3 separate regions of the Homo sapiens genome follow, and all the other regions are linked to region 2. The links are contacts of gene promoters, found by promoter capture Hi-C in human tissues and cell types (Jung and others, 2019). All regions are on one chromosome and are shown on one strand. The core of a region is centred on a gene start or on the middle of the fragment in contact, and the rest is flanking DNA. Distances in the headings are between cores, read along the strand shown. Region 1 has its middle 8.3 kb from the start of MIR4462. Region 2 holds the start of FGD2 (FYVE, RhoGEF and PH domain containing 2). Region 3 overlaps PXT1 (peroxisomal testis enriched protein 1).

Region 1 (3,237 bases), core at 713-3,212, 560 kb before region 2:
TAAAAACAAACAAACCAAAAATAAAACCTGGCTACTGTGCCTCTGTCTGGAAGAAGTGACACCACTTTAAGAAGCAGTGAAAGTTGTCCAGGATTGGCCAGTGGTTGGAGGGGGCAGAGAGAGAATTCCAAGCAGAAGGGACAGTGTAGCAAAGGCAGAGAGGCACGGAGTGTGAGGGGAGTGGAGACAGCTCTATAGTCCCAGGGCGAAGGTGCAAGAGAAAGAGGCAGGGCTCAGATCATAGCGTCTTGTTCACCATCCAACAAGCTTGCAACAGGGAGCCACTGAAGAGTTTTGAGCAGGGGAGTCACCAGTTCAGATTTGTAATGTGGAGATGTATTGGAGTGGGTGTCAGAGACTGGGATGTCAGTTAGGAAGCTTCTGCCACAGTCCAGGGAGGGGAACACGGGGTGGGATGATGGGGAACCAACCATGTCAGAGTAGTAAGGATTGGGTTGGGGGAAAGGGAGAGTCAATAAATATTCTGGACATCCAAGCATCAGCACCCAAAAGGATGAAGACAGAGTGAGCAAAATCACAGTCAAGGCCGACTTCTGGGTACCTGGCCTGGGTGTGGGTGAACTGCAGTGCCACCCTCTGAAAGGTTACATGGGAGGAGGAGCAGGCTTAGGGGAAGAAGCCCAGTTTGGAACACGCTGCGTTTGAGGTACCTGAGGGTGTCCATATCGACTTCCAGGAGGTAATTGAATATTCTGTCCTGAGCTCCACAGGTGAAGGCTGGACTAGCAATGTACACAGTGGCGGAAATCCCAAGGGCTATAGAGGCGACTGCCCAGGAGAGAGAATAGAGCAAGGGCCTAGGTCAGAGAAAGACGAAGAAGGAACTGTCAGAGAGAGAAGGAAGCTGGTGGAGCACTGTGTCGCGGTGGGGTCAGGATAGAGGGGCTCTTGAAGGAGGGAGGCCGATCAGATACAGCAGAAAGCACCAATGAGAAAAACACAGGTGTTTCCCACGGATTTGGTGCTGGACCCTCTATTAACAATTCCAGTCTGGCAGTAAACTCAAGGTATATTTAAACTGAGTGATTCAAAGAGAGTTTAATGAAGGTTTAGGCCAGGTGCAAAGGTGTGGGCAGGGTGCAGGGACATCAGCAGGAGATGCTGAAGCCCCAGGGCTTGGAACAGGGGAGCTGGGCCCAAAGGGACATGGACAGAGCCATGGGGAGGGCCTGCTGGACGGGAGCTGTAACCTTGTGTGGAGAGACACAGCAAAGAGCCAGCCCCCTGAAGTCCCGCAGGGAGCACATCAGGAAAATAAAGATCTTGGCTTCACTCTCCTCTCTCTGATCTTCTGTGAGGCTCTCCCTTTGTTGGCCCTCCCTGGCACAGGGAGCCTGGGCCATGCTGGTCACAGAGGTCGGCCTGGGAGCACAGTGCTGGTGGAGGAGGATTCCAAGACAGAGAAGCCTGCCTAGTCATTGGCAGCTTATCAAGAGCATATTCAGGGCTTGGAGGTCACAGAAGCTTTGCTGTTGAGAACTCAGAATAGGACAGACAGGAGAGGATATGAAGACTTGGATGCCTGGGACCCAGGGAGAGTGTTTTTTGTTTTGTTTGTTTTGTTAGAGACAGGATCTCACTATGTTGCCCAGGCTGGAGTGCAGTGGCACAATCATAATCATAGCTCACTGTAGCCTCAAACGCCTGGGCCCAAGCGAGCCTCCTGCCTCAGCCTCCCAAGTAGCTGAGATTATAGGTGCAAGCCACTGTGCCTGGCGAGGGAGAACTTTTTTAGGATAGGAAGTATTTGAGTAGATTTTGACACAGGAAAAGGAATGCAGACACACTGGAGGAAAGGGAGGTGAGAGTTGGAGGCCGGCTGAGGAGGAGGCGGGTGGGGGTGTGGGGGCAGTGGAGGGCTCTCTGGGAGGAGGGACAGAAGGGACTTGATTGGGAGGACAGAGGCCCATCCTCTGCTTCCTCCCGAAAAGGCTGCAGAACAGCCTAAAGCCAGGGGGTGGGTCTTTCAGGCCCAGAAAGGGGAGTGTCTCTCTGCCAAGGACCAGGGCAACGGTCCAAAACAGAGACACACAGCCCAGCCCAGGCCTGAGTGGTGGCTGGAGGGTATGGAGGTGTGAGAAAAGACCCCCATAGTCAGAGAGAAGATTCAGAAGCAGTTTCTGGAATGGACTGGGATCCCACCACTGGGGCCGTCCCAAATCTCCCTTAGCCAGTTTGAGGAACTGAAGCTCACATTCAGCCCAGGTAGCAATTAGAAAAGCTGCTCTTCTCCCTTTTTTTTTTTTTGAGAAGGAGTCTCGCTCTATCGCCCAGGCTGGAGTGCAGTGGCAGGATCTCAGCTCACTGCAACCTCCACCTCCTGGGTTCAAGTGATTCTCCTGCCTCAGCCTCTAGAGTAGCTGGGACTACAGGCACACGCCACCACACCTGGCTAAACTTTTTGTATTTTTAGTAGAGACAGGGTTTCACCATGTTGGCCAGGCTAGTCTCGAACTCCTGAGCTCAAGTGATCTGCCTACTTCGGACTCCCAAAGTGCTGGGATTACAGGCGTGAGCCACCACGCCTATCCAGAAGAGCTGCTTTCTAAAGCACGTACTAGAGGAGTCTCTTACCAGGATGATTTAGCAACCACAGCATCTATGGAGAACTTCAGTATGTGCCAGTGACGAAAGCTTTATACAGATTAACTTCAATGTCATGAAAAATCTCATGGAGCAGCTATTATTATTATTAGTCCCATTTTATAGATTAGAAAACTGAGGCTCTATAAGATTGTATGTTTACATGGGGTCCCACAGCCAGTCAGAAGTGCCAGGATTCCCACCCAGGCCTGCCTGACCCCCAGCACCCTCCTAGAACCACCCCAGGTTGGGAGGGGTAGGGGAGAGCTGGCCTGGGACATTCTCACCTAATAGAAGTCCCAGAAAGCCCCAACCCAGGCTTTCTGCAGTTGTTTCTGCTTGAGTGGAATTCCCATTGCGTTGTTTTACCGCCCTCTGTAAAAGTTACCATTGAAGGACAAAAGACTCGGTGAAAATCTAAAGGGGATTTCTGCTTCTGTTTCTGAACCAGAAGAAAAAGAAGTAGTGAAACCAGGTGCTTCTTGGCTGATCAGCCTGGGAAGAGAGAATTATTAATAACCAGGACCATTTCAGTTGCCAGTAACAAAAACCCAATTCACATTGGTTTAGGAAATCATAATAGCCGATGTCAGCTGCTCACTATATACTAGGCACTGTTCTGAGCACTAATGT
Region 2 (3,396 bases), core at 897-3,396:
CCCATGGGTCTGCAGCTCATGGGCGTAGCTGGTTCTCAGGCTTTCTGTTCTACATTTGGTTTCAGGTTCTGCATTTCTGTTCTAGGGCCCCTGGCCAGCTTCTGTTTCCTCTTTGCCCCTCAGTTTCAGATCAGCTGAGGTGCTGGAGACCTCATAAGGAAGCCCAGGCCAAGGCAGTTGGTATGGGTCCCCTCACTCAGTAAGGAGTGGCTCTCACCCTCTTGATGCCTGCTGGGACCTAACTCCCGTCTAAGGGCTGCCCACTCCTGCCAGGGTTATTGCCTGGGCAGAGCACAGCATGCTGAGGGGCTCCACCCAGGTGTGCCTAGTCCACGTCAAGCATGTTGAGTGAGGTGGTACCATCCACCCACACCCAAGGGGGTGGTGGGCCAGGAAGGCGGCACCCAAGAGCTGTCTTTGGTGCTGAACAGGACGAGCTTGGCAAAGATCCCGGGAGAGGCAGGGGAGAATCACCCAGCTCAGGAAGTTGAAGACTTCTAGGTCTACATCTATGCCATCTCCACCCTGAAGCCTACAGGAAACATTGCCTGCCATGAGTGCCCTCAATACAGCATCCGGGCCATTCCTAGGACATCTACTGTCTATGACCTTGCATCATAGTTATTCGATGAGCTCAGCATCCAAATACTGAAACCCTTCTTCATCCTCTACAGTTCCTGTAGGATGCTGTGCTGTGCCACCCATGTCCCTCCTTCAGGAATGAGGCCTCCCCACACCATCCCCACCAGCTACTGGTAGTACTGGGGGCTGCCGGGTAATTTATTGGCTGAGTCCCTCTCTGGGAATCACTCTCTGGAAGAGAGAGCTGCCTCACCCAGAGTCTCTTGTCCAGTCCACATGGAGATACAAATACCCAGCCCTCTTCCTCAGCTGGAACAACCGAGAGGCATCCCAGCTCCAGAGCTCCCTGGGACAGGCTGAGGCCTCTGTGGCAGGTGCACTGCAGTTCAGCATCTCCCCCTGCCCGGCCCTGCTTCCCTCACACCCACAGCTGTTGTTCCCAAAAGCTCTCCCTGATAAATCACCTGAGGCAAACCTCTGTCTGAGTCTATTTCCAGAAAACCCTACCTGGGACAGCCCCTAACACAGTCCTGAGCTTAAGAAATGCCTGCAGAATGGATTGATGCCACACATAACACACAACACACACATACACACACGCGCACACACACAAACACACATGCTCCCAGGGCTACCAATGACTCCACGCATCTGGCCCAGCCTTTTCCCTCCAGACAGACGCCCCAGCATTGCCCCAGATACTTAAAGCACTTGGCATCCTCACCTCTCTGTGTCTCCATTTCCTCATCTATAAGACGGGAACAGAAACAGAATCTACCCCTATTAGGCTGTTCGATGACTAAATTAAATAAGTAAGGACATGAACTTAGAGTAGGGAGTACCCCATCAGGATGCTGCCCGTACATCCTGGTTTGCCTCATACGGTCCCAGCTTTACCTGTAATGCCTCCCCCACAACCACCACATTTTATTTGGCATTTACTTTCAGTTTCAATTGTGTGCTGAATGATAAATTATATGGTTATCCTAATCATAGGGCGTAAATTCTTGGTGAGTATCAGCTACCTTTTCTGAGAGGTGCTGGCAGGCACTGGGTGGGGTCCTGTGCCCACACACAGGCTTTGGTCTGCCCATGCTTGCTCGTAACCACACCTGTCTGGACTCTCCCAACACACACTGGCACTCTCACCCCTGCCTGGCTCCTGGTGTCCCACCGACACTCTCCCATGCTCCAAGGAATCCGTGACCGAGGAACGCGGGGCTGCCCCTGCAGGAGGAGGGTCCGGGGCAGGGCCCAGGGAGAGAGCTGCCAGAAAGGCTGGAGGGTGGCTGCCAGCCCACCATGGTGACCCTCCCACCCCAGCTGCCCATACCTGCTATTCTCAAACACAGTGACCAGGTTGGACACAGATGCCAGCTTCTCCTCACTTGCCCCCTTCATCCTGCCGGTTTCCGGGGTGGATCTCAGCTACCCTCGAAGCAGAGAGAGAGGCCTCCAGCCAGCACACTCAGCCACGCTGGCCTGGGACAGATAGGCTAAATCACCCATGAATCTGTTCTGATCTTTCTTGAGGGCTCAGAAGGTCGGCTCTTGGCTTCAGAGTGAAGAAAGAGGAAGTGGTCCCAGAGCCACAGCCCTGCAGGGGAAAGGCCAGCACTCCCGCAGTGGGAGGAGCCTGCTCGGGCCCCACCTCTCCCTCAGGGGGGCTGACCTTTCACACCTGTAGACCCCCATTCCAGAAGCCACCTAAGAGGTGGCAACAGGGCCCAGAGGTAGCTTCTGGAGCCCAGTCTGGGCTGGTGCAGTGGTTTGCACCTCTAATTCCAGTGCTTTGGGAGGCCGAAGCAGGAGGATTGCTTGAGCCCAGGAGTTCAAGACCAACCTGGGCAACATAGTGAGACACCGTCTCTTAAAAAAAAAAAAAAAAAAAAAGGCCACCCGGAGCCAGACCCTTGGCTGGTTTCTTGGCCTAGTGGTTCCAGCCAACCACACTTTCTCCTTCAGAAGGTCCAGTGGCTTTTACTTGGCCTCTTTCCCAGCACCTTCTTTTCTGCATCTGCCCCTGCTCACAGCTGTAAGGAAATAATGTCTTTTTTATTCTTTAGAGACAGAGTGCGGTGGTGGGATCTCGGCTCACTGCACCCTCTGCCTCCCGGTTCAAGCGATTCTCCTGCCTCAGCCTCCTGAGTAGCCGGGATTACAGGGCCTGCCACCACGCCCTGCTAATTATTTGTATTTTTAGTAGAGATGGGGTTTCACCATGTTGCTCAGGCTGGTCTTGAACTCCTGGCCTCAGGTGATCCTCCTGCCTCGGCCTCCCAAAATTCTGGGATTACAGATGTGAGCCACTGTGCCTGGCCAGGAAACAGCATGTTTTATTTAAAATAATCACAAACCTGGTAAGGGTGGCAGGGAGTACTGTGATGTTCCCACCTCCCCACTGGGGTTCTCTCATTTTAGTTGTTGCTGTCATCACCTCATTGCCCCAAGGGAGGGCAGTTTCCTCCCTGAAACTCAGAGGATAATAATAGCTAACATGCACTCTTTTTCATGCTTATGAGTATTTTCTTATTAATCCTATAACAACCTCATGAGGTAGGTACTATTCCTATCCCCACTTTACATAGGAAGAAACAGAATCAGAGAGGTTAAGTAACTTGCCCAAGGTCACCCAGGAAGAATACAAGAGAAGTTGGATTTCCAAAGCAAAAGTGGGTGTCCTACAGTTCCAGCAAAGGTTCGTTGGGAGCCTGGATGACCATGTTCTTGCTGCTCCATCCCCAGGCCTCCCTGATCCCAGGACACTGGGTTGTCTTTGCCTGAGGCCTCCTTTACCACCTGGTCTCCCGGCCC
Region 3 (3,335 bases), core at 691-3,190, 610 kb after region 2:
AAAAAAAAAAAAAAAATCCTAAGTTTGGCTCTGAAATGCTGAAGGCTTTGCTGCTTCAAAGTTCAAATCAAGGAACTTTAACAGAATTTCAAGTCTGGCATGGTAACTTTCTTTCCTATATAGTCATCATTTATTTACCTTTTGTACTCTGTTTAATCAAGCAGTCACATCGATTCTCTAGATGCCTTCCTGCCATTGATGTATTTAAAGAAACTTTTATTCTTGCTCTTGGAACTGCCTATCAAGCAGCTCATCAATTTATATTTTTATCTGCTAAATGGATTGTTGTTGAGCTGCCAAATTTTTTGCTCTCTTGTTCTTTTTACTTAAGCAAGTGCTCTGTCTTTTCAAAAGTGTTCTGTGTTTCTCAAAATAACATCTTTTAGGCCGGGCACAGTGGCTCACACCTGTAATCCCAGCACGTTGGGAGGCTGAGGCCAGGAGTTTGAGACCAGCCTGGGCAACATAGTGAGACCCCTGTCTCTCTCTCTCTCTTTTTTTTGTTTGAGATCCCTGTCTCTACAAAACAATTTTTAAAAAAATTAGCCAGGTGTGGTGGTGTGTGCCTGTAGTCCAGCTACTTGGGAGGCTGAAGTGGGAGGATTGCTTGAGCCCAGGAATTCGAGGCCGTAGTGAGCTATGATTGTGTCACTGCACTTCAACATGGGTGACAGAGGGAGACCCTGAATCTGAAAAAGAAAAAAAAAATCTTCTATTTTGCCATTGAGTTGTGTGGGGTTTTGGTTCAAGTATCTGCTTTTTTTTTTAATTCAGTTTTTTTTTTAAACCCGGGACATATGCTTTTTCTAGATATAAAGCATGTTTTAAAATAGTTAGGCTTCTCATCACTTTTAGAATTTTAAATATGCCTTTGAAATTTTTCTCTCCTTCTGGGTTCTGGAAACTCCTCCCTCCCTGTCCCTACGCCCCTGTCTCTATGCCCCAACAGAGTTGTCACCGGGTCTAGGTACTACACCATCCTCTGTGGTTTCTCCACACCTTTTAGAGTCTCTTTATTTAACTCACCTCGAATTAGCCTAATTTGGGTGTGCCATCTGTTTCCTCTGGGAATCTGACTGATATCATAATGCATAGGGAATTTCTCAGTTTGTTAGAAAGAAGGGAGGGAAACAAACATTTATTAAAACATTTTTTCCAGGTACTGTTTGAGACACTTCTACATGTTTCATTTAATTCCCCCAATAACCCTATGAATTACTGTCATAGGTATTTCAGGAGAAGCAATGGAGTTTCAGAGAGATTACAAAACTTATCAAAGGTCACTTAGCTTCTAAGTGGCAAAACTAGAATTTAAATATATGAGCATCTGACTCAGTGTTCTATACTTTTTCTTGTCTGCCATGCTGAAAGGAAACTCATTCCGTTTTCCTAGCTGATATCGACTATAAGAGGGGGAGAAAAATCCTTTAATGATTTTCGGTTACTAGCAGGACAAAGTCTAAGTTCCTTAGCCTACTGCTAATGGTTTTTCATTCCTTCCTGAATTCATTTCTTCAACTTATATTGAGCACCTGCTGTATGTCAGGCTCTGTTTAAGTACCGGAGATATGGGAGTGATCAAAGAGACAATATTACTGATCTCACGGAGTTTTTAAGGGAGACAAACAGTATCTACACAAATAAAGTATGTAGTTTATCAGATAGAGATACATGCTTTGGAGAAAAATAAAGCAAGGAAAGGGATAAGGAGTGTTGGGGTTTGCAATTTTAAGTAGAGATGTTAAGGGAAGGCCTCATTGAGAAGGTGACTTTTTTTTTTTTTTGAGGCATAGTCTCACTCTGTCATCCAGGCTAGAATGCCATGGCACAAAGTTGTCACCGCAACCTCTGCTCCCAGGTGCAAGCAATTATCATGCCTCAGCCTCCCGAGTAGCTGGGATTACAGGCATGCACCACCACACCTGGCTATTTTTGTATTTTTAGTAGAGGGGGTGTTTCACCATGTTGGTCAGGCTGGTCTCAAACTCCTGGGCTCAAGTGATCCACCAGCCTTGGCCTCCCAAAGTGCTTACAGGCATGAGCCACCAAGAAGGTGACTTCTGAGGAAAACCTTGAAAGAAGTGTGGGACTGAGCTGTGGATATTGGGGAGGAGGCAGAGGATTGGAGGCAGGAGGACAGCAAAGCGCTTGGGGCAGGAGTGCATCTCGTGTGTTTGAAGAATGGCAAGGAGGCCAGTGTGGCTGAAGCTGAGTGAGGGAGAAGGTCATAAAAGATATGGTCAGGGCCAGGCGTAGTGGCTCACGCCTGTAATCCCGGCACTTTGGGAGGCCGGATCACTTGAGGTCGGGAGTTCGAGACTAGGCTGACCAACATGGAGAAACCCTGTCTCTACTAAAAATACAAAAAAAATTAGCCGGGCTTGGTGGTGCATGCCTGTAATCCCGGCTACTCGGGAGGCTGAGGCAGGAGAATCACTTGAACCTGGGAGGTGGAGGTTGTGGTGAGCCGAGATCGTGTCATTGCACTCCAGCCTGGTCAACAAGAGCGAAATTCTGTCTCAAAAAAAAAAAAGATATGGTCAGAAGGGTGGGTGGTGGGCAGATTAGGTAGGGCCTTGAGGTCACTGCAAGGACTTTTTTTCTAAGTGAGGTGGTGCCATCGGAGGGCACTGAGCAGAGAAGCCGCATTTCAACAGTCCACAGAGGGGGCTGTGCTGAGAACAGACTGCAGGGGGCAGGCGGGGGAGCATTTGTGTCTGACCCATGGTCTTCTTTTTCTGATGTTCCGACATAAACAGTTGTTACTTTCTGCTCCAAAATACTTAATATTCACCTCACCTCTTTGCCCATCTAAGTCCTAGACATTATTAATTATTATTATTATTATTGAGACAGGATCTCCCTCTGTTGCCCAGGCTGGAGTGCTGTGGCACAATCACAGCTCACTGCAGCCTCAACTTCCCAGGCTCAGGTGATCCTCCCACCTCAGCCTCCTGAGTAGCTGGGACTACAGGTGTGTGCCACCATGCCTGGCTCAGTTTTTCTAGAGATGAGGTTTCACCATGTTGCCTAGGCTGGTCTCAAATTCCTGAACTCAAGCCATTCACCTGCCTTGGCCTCCCAAAGTGCTGGGACTACAGGCAGGAGCCACCATGCCCAGTCTTCTCTCCATTCTTCTAGCCTCAAGGCAAACTTGCTCACCTCTTTGAAAGAACTAAGAAAGTGTTTTGGGAATCCAGGGGAATAGGTTATCAGCCCTGAAAAGAGTGCCCCAATTTACTGATGAGCCCCAGTTTGTTGAGACCAGCCAAGGCAACATAGTGAGACCCTGTCTGCACAAAATATTTTTAAAAATTAGCCAGACATGGTGGCAT

Evidence for each region. The method cuts DNA at HindIII sites, captures the fragments that hold promoters and counts their contacts. A contact is called where the count stands out against the background at its distance.
Region 1: a fragment that was not itself captured here is called in contact with the fragment with the promoter of FGD2 in region 2 in 1 of the 25 tissues and cell types used here (aorta).
Region 3: a fragment that was not itself captured here is called in contact with the fragment with the promoter of FGD2 in region 2 in 1 of the 25 tissues and cell types used here (heart right ventricle).

What each region holds. Positions count from the first base shown.
Region 1 is chr6:37,562,065-37,565,301 of GRCh38, reverse strand. No RefSeq gene overlaps it. Among named protein-coding and RNA genes, the nearest start is that of MIR4462, 8.3 kb to the right of the region's middle. RefSeq lists enhancers at 2,609-2,788, 2,929-3,138. The HindIII fragment of the contact is 3,278 bases long and covers 324-3,237 here.
Region 2 is chr6:37,004,405-37,007,800 of GRCh38, reverse strand. It overlaps FGD2 (FYVE, RhoGEF and PH domain containing 2), which reads right to left and starts at 2,146. Exons shown (of 16, transcript NM_173558.4): 1 at 1,916-2,146. The coding sequence starts at 1,983. RefSeq lists enhancers at 11-180, 2,001-2,130 and a silencer at 2,386-2,548. The HindIII fragment of the contact is 13,068 bases long and covers 2,036-3,396 here.
Region 3 is chr6:36,392,175-36,395,509 of GRCh38, reverse strand. All of the region lies in intron 4 of PXT1 (peroxisomal testis enriched protein 1), which reads left to right. Among named protein-coding and RNA genes, the nearest start is that of ETV7, 6.2 kb to the right of the region's middle. The HindIII fragment of the contact is 4,481 bases long and covers 1-3,335 here.